Regions from separate parts of the Homo sapiens genome. Here region 2 is linked to region 1. Evidence: promoter capture Hi-C in 16 types of primary human blood cells and fetal thymus (Javierre and others, 2016). All regions are on one chromosome and are shown on one strand. Each heading gives the region's core, a stretch centred on a gene start or on the middle of the fragment in contact. The rest is flanking DNA. Distances are from core to core; before and after follow the strand shown. Region 1 holds the start of ZNF605 (zinc finger protein 605). Region 2 overlaps ZNF84 (zinc finger protein 84).

Region 1 (3,261 bases), core at 708-3,207:
GGAGAAGGGTGGGGAGCGGGGGAGAAGGGGCTTCAGTCACTCCTGCAGGTGAGGTGGGGAGGGGATGAGAAGGATGGGGGAGGAGAAGGGTAGGGAGGGGAGGAGAAGGGTGGGGAGGGGAGGAGAAGGGGCTTCTGTCCTGGGACGAACACACTGGTCTCCATTCACTCACTTCATCAGGTGCCCAAGTCAGGCGCTCACAGAGCCCCTCCCCTGTAACTGACATTCTGAGGCTTGCGCCACAGACCCCCTAAATTAGACCCCAGTCACTCAATGCCCAGGGATCCCTAATCCCTTATCCCCGGGGCCCCCAAGCATTCGCCCCCATGACACCCCATTCTCTAATCCACTCCATGCTGGAGCATTCACTGACATTCCCACAGGCCCTCCCAAACACCACCTGGAAAGGGATTGTGGGGCTCTGCACAAATGCCGATCCCGCAGGCCCCTCCAATGACGCCAAGTATGACCCCCGTTGTCCACGCACTCACAACTTGCAACAGGTCCACCATTAACTTACATCCAGACTCCCTTGTCACAAATACACAGCGCCATTCCTAATGCTTCCATCATAAGATCCCCAAACACAAGCACAGAAACAAACCCCAGCCACTCGCCAGCATAGGCCACCCCATACTCGCCTCCGCTATTGGAGACAGGGGTTGAAAGAGCAACCACTGTTATTCAGCTGTCAAATAAAACATACAACTGGACAGAGCAAAGAAAGACGGTTCCAAAGGGTTATTGGAAGTGGGGAAAAAAAGACGCGGAAGAGGGTTGGGAAGGGGAAGGAGAACGGGCTTCTGGGAAGAACCGTGAAGCCACGAGACTCACGTGCATCTCTGCAAGGCAAAAAGGGTTTTTCTTTCACAGAGAGGTGTGAACAAGGTTAGCAAAGACCAGGCCTGGCCAAGCGAGGTGGAAGTGCGGGCGACCAGACAGCAGAGCGGGGAAAGCTTGACCCTGAGCCAGCCTGTTCTCAGGCGAGGCTGCGTGTTGGCTCAGGCTGGGGATGGGCCAAAGCTCAAGAAAATGGGGAAAGGAAAGAAGCTTAGCTAAAGTTTGCTTAAGGAGCATTTTGCTCCGACCGCTCGGTGGAGTTCAGCCAGTCACCGATGAGGCAAGCGACGGCAACGTGGCAGGTCTGTGTGAACAAGGGGCATCCTGGAGGCTGACCAAAGTCATATAGGGAACGGGAGATCTTTGCAGTGAGCCATTTGCTGGAACCCAAAAGGGTGGGAAATTCCTCAACCTTCGCTGTTTTCCAGGAGCACAGGGCTCTGGTGAAATCCAACACTGTCACAGCCGGCAGGCTTTCCAGTGAATGGAACCCACACAAGCAAGCCCCTAAGCCCTCCAACGCAGGCCCCCGCAGAAGCCTCATCATTCACCCCGCTGGCCTCCAATGCTCACCCAAAGGCATCCAAATCATTCATCAGCAGAGTCCTAATCGCTGCAGACAAATCCTCCACACGGCCTCCCAGGGGCCCCTCTCCCCTGGGGCCAAGGGCAACCTCGCGTCCCCTTGCCCCGCCCGTGCTGCACCCCAAGTCTACAGCGACCTCCATAGGCCCCCAGTGAATCGCCCAGCTGACCCCAAATCTCCCCCGACACCCACATTCAGCGCCCCGCCGCCGCCCGCCCTACAGCCCCCACCCCACCCTCTGCCTCCCACCCCCGCGCGCCCCCAGAGCCCCCGCCTGAGGCCCGCCTTCCGCGCATGCGCCCAGGCCGGTCCGCAGGCCTTTCTCGCCCCAGCCGGCAGCCAGCTCGTTCGCGCTGGGGTCACCGCGAGCCGGTCCGCAGCGGGGTCACCGCGATCCCCGGCGCAGACACAGAGGCCGCCCCCAGCCCCGCCGCCTCGTGGTCCCGCCCCCGCTGCACGCTCCCTTACCCCTCGGACCTCGCAGGGCCGCGGCGGACACGGCCCGATCGGGGACGTGAACGCGCAGAACTACATTTCCCAGCGTCCCGCTCGCGCTGGAACTACACTTCCCGGGGGGCTCGGCGGTGCACCCGCCGGGGTCGCGGATTGGAGGTTTCCGGTTGGAAAAGCCCCTTGGCGGCTAACTGGGGAGGACTGGAAGAAATCTAGGATGGAGCCAGCACTGCTGGCCCAACATGTCTGTGAGAGAACCTAAAGGCGCCTCCAGGAGGAAGCGTCTGCATCTTTTCCTTGTTTTTTTTTTTTTTTTTTTTGGAGGCAGGGTCTCGCTCTGTCACCCAGTGGGGAGTGCAGTGGTGCCATGAACGCTCATTGCAGCCTCAGGCTGGTCTCCGACTCCTGGGTTCAAATGATCCTCCTGCCCCAGCCTCCCAAAATGCTGGAATTACAGGCATGAGTCACTGCGTCCGGCTGCTTTTCCATTTTTCATCGTAGCTGTAAGTAATATCGGTAAATGTTAGTGTTACGTGCGTCCGTATAGGAGACCACCTGAGCAGGCTAAGTGTGAGCAACACGCCTGTTTATTCACTTGGGTGCAAGTGGGCTGAGTCTGAGAAAGGAGTCAGCGGAGGGTGGTGGGCTTGTCATTGGTTCTTATAGCTTTGGGATAGGATAGGCGGTGGAGTCAGCAGCAATTTTTTTTTTTTTTTTTTTTTTTGAGACAGAGTCTCACTCTGTCGCCGAGGCTGGAGTGCAGTGGCGCGATCTCGGCTCACTGCAAGCTCCGCCTCCCGGGTTCACGCCATTCTCCTGCCTCATCCTCCTGAGTAGCTGGGACTACAGGCACCCGCCACCACGCCCGGCTAATTTTTTTGTATTTTTAGTAGAGACGGGGTTTCACTGTGTTAGCCAGGATGGTCTTGATCTCCTGACCTCGTGATCCGCCCTCCTCGGCCTCCCAAAGTGCTGGGATTACGGGCGTGAGCCACCGCGCCCGGCCTCAGCAGCAATTTTTTGCGGGCAGGGGAGGATGTTACAAAGTACATTCACAAGGGCGGGGAGGGTGTATTGTCACAAGGGCGGAGAGGAATGTTACAAAGTACATTCACAAGGACCGGGAATATTACAAAGTACATTATCACAAGGGTGGGGGAATGTCACGATGGCTTGACCATGGTGCGGCCAGCTCAGAGGACCTTACATTTAGTACATCCAATCCAGCAGTATTGACAAAAGGAATGAAAATAGATGATAGGGTTGGGCGCGGTGGCTCACGGCTGTAATCCCAGCACTTTGGGAGGCTGAGGTGGGCGGATCACCAGGTCAGGAGATTGAGACCATCCTGGCCAACACGGTGAAACCCCGTCTCTACTAAA
Region 2 (3,252 bases), core at 88-2,587, 100 kb after region 1:
TACCCAAAGGAGACAAAAGAATCACAAGATGACTATGAAACAACATCCTATTTAAATTTAGACACAGAAATTCTCAGAAATATTTAAAAAAAGAATACAAAAAGGTATAAGAATGATTACATACCATGACTAAGCAGGGTATTTTTCACAATGCAATGTTTGTTTAATATGATACAATATTACTTGAACAAAGTAAAAATGTAATAATTGAAATAGAAAAAGTTTGATAAATTCAACACCTATGAATGATAGAACACCAAGAAAACTATTAGAAGAAAACTTTTGAGACCTGCTAAAAGTCCTCCATGAAAAACCAAAATTGGCCCGGCGCAGTGGCTCACACCTGTAACCCAGAACTTTGGGAGGCTGAGGTGGAAAGACTGCATAAAGCCAGGAGTTCAAGACCATTCTGGACAATATAGGGAATCCCCATCTTTACAAAATATTAAAAAAAAATTATCTGGGCATGGTGGTGCATGCCTGTTGTCCCAACTACTCAGGCAGTTAAGGTGGGAGGATCTAAGTGGCTTTCTTAATAGTAATGTGAAGATGCATATGGCAAGTTTAAATAAAACTTTAGAATAAGAAACAATACACAAAATATTTCTCATTGTTTAAGCTTGAAATGACTAATCATTCTTTCAAATATTTTCATTTTCTTCTTAGTATTTACTACAGTGTATAGTTTGTTGTTTTAAAAATATTATCTTTTCCATTACAATATAAATTTTATAATGACAGGAACTTATTTTTTTATTTTTTATTTTTATTTTTTTGAGATGGAGTCTTGCTCTGTTACCCAGGCTGGAGTGCAGTGGCGTGATCTCGGCTCACTGCAATCTCCGCCTCCTGGGTTCACACCGTTCTCCTGCCTCAGCCTCCTGAGTAGCTGGGACTACAGGCGCCCACCACCACACCCGGCTAATTTTTTGTATTTTTAGTAGAGACGGGGTTTCACCATGTTAGACAGGATGGTCTCGATCTCCCAACCTCATGATCTGCCTGCCTCGGCCTCCCAAAGTGCTGGGATTACAGGTGTGAGCCACCGCTCCTGGCCTACAGGAACTTATTTTTTCTCTTGTGTCTCTAGTACCTTACACACTACCTGGGCATAGTGTATACTCAGAAAGTATTGAGTGAATTAATTACTCAAAACATTGGGTCAAAGCTTCTTCTAACCTTTTTTCTTTGCTTTTCATGTGTTTTTCATATTCCCCATTTAATAAACATATTTGTCAACAACCAAAGATGACTTAATCTCCAGTCAGTTTCCTGTTTCTGTTTTTAGCATTTCCTTGCAATACCTAGAAGATAGTTATTATACTTGGGACTTATTTCAGACTCGGAAACTAAGCCTTAAAAGCAGCCAACCCCTCAACATAGCATTTCTAGTTTTGTTTTGTTTTGTTTTGTTTTTAGAAAGCACAACCAAACAGATTGTTTTTGTTTCCTTTATAGAAGTCTGGAAAGTAGATGGTAACATGATGTGGCACCAGGATAACCAAGACAAGCTTAAAATTATAAAAAGAGGTCATGAATGTGATGCATTTGGAAAAAATTTCAATCTGAACATGAACTTTGTTCCTTTAAGGAAATCAAACAGTGAAGGTGACTTAGATGGATTGATTTTAAAACATCATTTAGATTTGCTTATTCCAAAAGGAGATTATGGAAAAGCAGAATCAGATGACTTTAATGTGTTTGATAATTTTTTTCTCCATTCCAAGCCTGAGGATACTGATACCTGGTTAAAATACTATGACTGTGATAAATATAAAGAGAGCTATAAAAAGTCACAGATTATCATATATCATAGAAATCGTTTAGGGGAGAAACTCTATGAATGCAGTGAATGTAGGAAGCGCTTCAGTAAGAAACCAAGTCTCATTAAACATCAGAGCAGACATATAAGAGACATAGCCTTTGGCTGTGGTAATTGTGGCAAAACCTTTCCCCAGAAGTCTCAGTTTATTACACATCACAGAACTCATACAGGAGAAAAACCTTATAATTGTAGCCAGTGTGGGAAAGCCTTCTCCCAAAAGTCACAGCTCACATCCCATCAGCGGACACATACAGGAGAGAAACCTTATGAGTGTGGTGAATGTGGGAAAGCCTTCTCCCGGAAGTCACATCTCATATCGCATTGGAGAACACACACAGGAGAGAAACCCTATGGATGCAATGAATGTGGGAGGGCCTTTAGTGAAAAGTCCAATCTCATTAACCATCAGAGAATTCATACCGGTGAGAAGCCTTTTGAATGCAGGGAATGTGGGAAAGCCTTCAGCAGGAAGTCACAACTCGTTACACATCACAGAACTCACACAGGAACAAAACCCTTTGGATGTAGTGATTGTAGAAAAGCATTCTTTGAGAAGTCAGAGCTTATTAGACATCAGACAATTCATACTGGAGAGAAACCCTATGAATGCAGCGAGTGTAGGAAAGCATTTAGAGAGAGGTCGAGTCTCATTAATCATCAGAGAACACATACAGGAGAGAAACCTCATGGATGCATTCAGTGTGGGAAGGCCTTCTCCCAGAAGTCACATCTCATATCACATCAGATGACACACACAGGAGAAAAACCCTTTATATGCAGTAAATGTGGGAAAGCCTTCAGCAGGAAATCACAGCTCGTTAGACATCAGAGAACTCATACGGGAGAAAAACCGTATGAATGCAGTGAGTGTGGGAAAGCTTTCAGTGAAAAATTAAGTCTCACTAATCATCAAAGAATTCATACAGGAGAAAAACCATATGTATGCAGTGAATGTGGGAAAGCCTTTTGTCAGAAGTCACATCTCATATCACATCAGAGGACACATACAGGGGAGAAACCCTATGAATGCAGTGAATGTGGGAAGGCCTTTGGTGAGAAGTCAAGTCTTGCAACTCATCAGAGAACTCATACTGGAGAAAAACCGTATGAATGCAGGGACTGTGAAAAAGCTTTCTCCCAGAAATCACAGCTAAATACCCATCAGAGAATTCACACTGGAGAGAAACCCTATGAATGCAGTCTTTGTAGGAAAGCTTTTTTTGAGAAGTCGGAGCTAATTAGACATCTGAGAACTCATACAGGAGAAAAACCTTATGAATGCAATGAATGTAGAAAAGCCTTCAGGGAGAAGTCAAGTCTCATCAATCATCAGAGAATACATACAGGAGAGAAGCCTTTTGAATGCAGTGAGTGTGGCAAAGCTTTCTCTCGGAAGTCACACCTTATACCACATCAAAGGACACATA

What was found. The method cuts DNA at HindIII sites, captures the fragments that hold promoters and counts their contacts. A CHiCAGO score of 5 or more calls a contact.
Region 2: a contact is called between a fragment that was not itself captured here and the fragment with the promoter of ZNF605 in region 1, in 1 of 17 cell types (megakaryocytes). The highest score is 6.3, in megakaryocytes.

Annotation. Positions count from the first base shown.
Region 1 is chr12:132,954,349-132,957,609 of GRCh38, forward strand. ZNF605 (zinc finger protein 605) reads right to left here and starts at 1,958. Exons shown (of 5, transcript NM_183238.4): 1 at 1,895-1,958. LOC124903064 (a long non-coding RNA gene) reads left to right here and starts at 2,201. Exons shown (of 2, transcript XR_007063552.1): 1 at 2,201-2,382. RefSeq lists enhancers at 676-1,506, 935-1,229, 1,507-2,335, 2,089-2,168 and a silencer at 1,589-1,928. The HindIII fragment of the contact is 12,358 bases long and covers 1,049-3,261 here.
Region 2 is chr12:133,055,496-133,058,747 of GRCh38, forward strand. It overlaps ZNF84 (zinc finger protein 84), which reads left to right. Exons shown (of 5, transcript NM_001289971.2): 5 at 1,459-3,252. Among named protein-coding and RNA genes, the nearest start is that of ZNF84, 20 kb to the left of the region's middle. The HindIII fragment of the contact is 343 bases long and covers 1,167-1,509 here.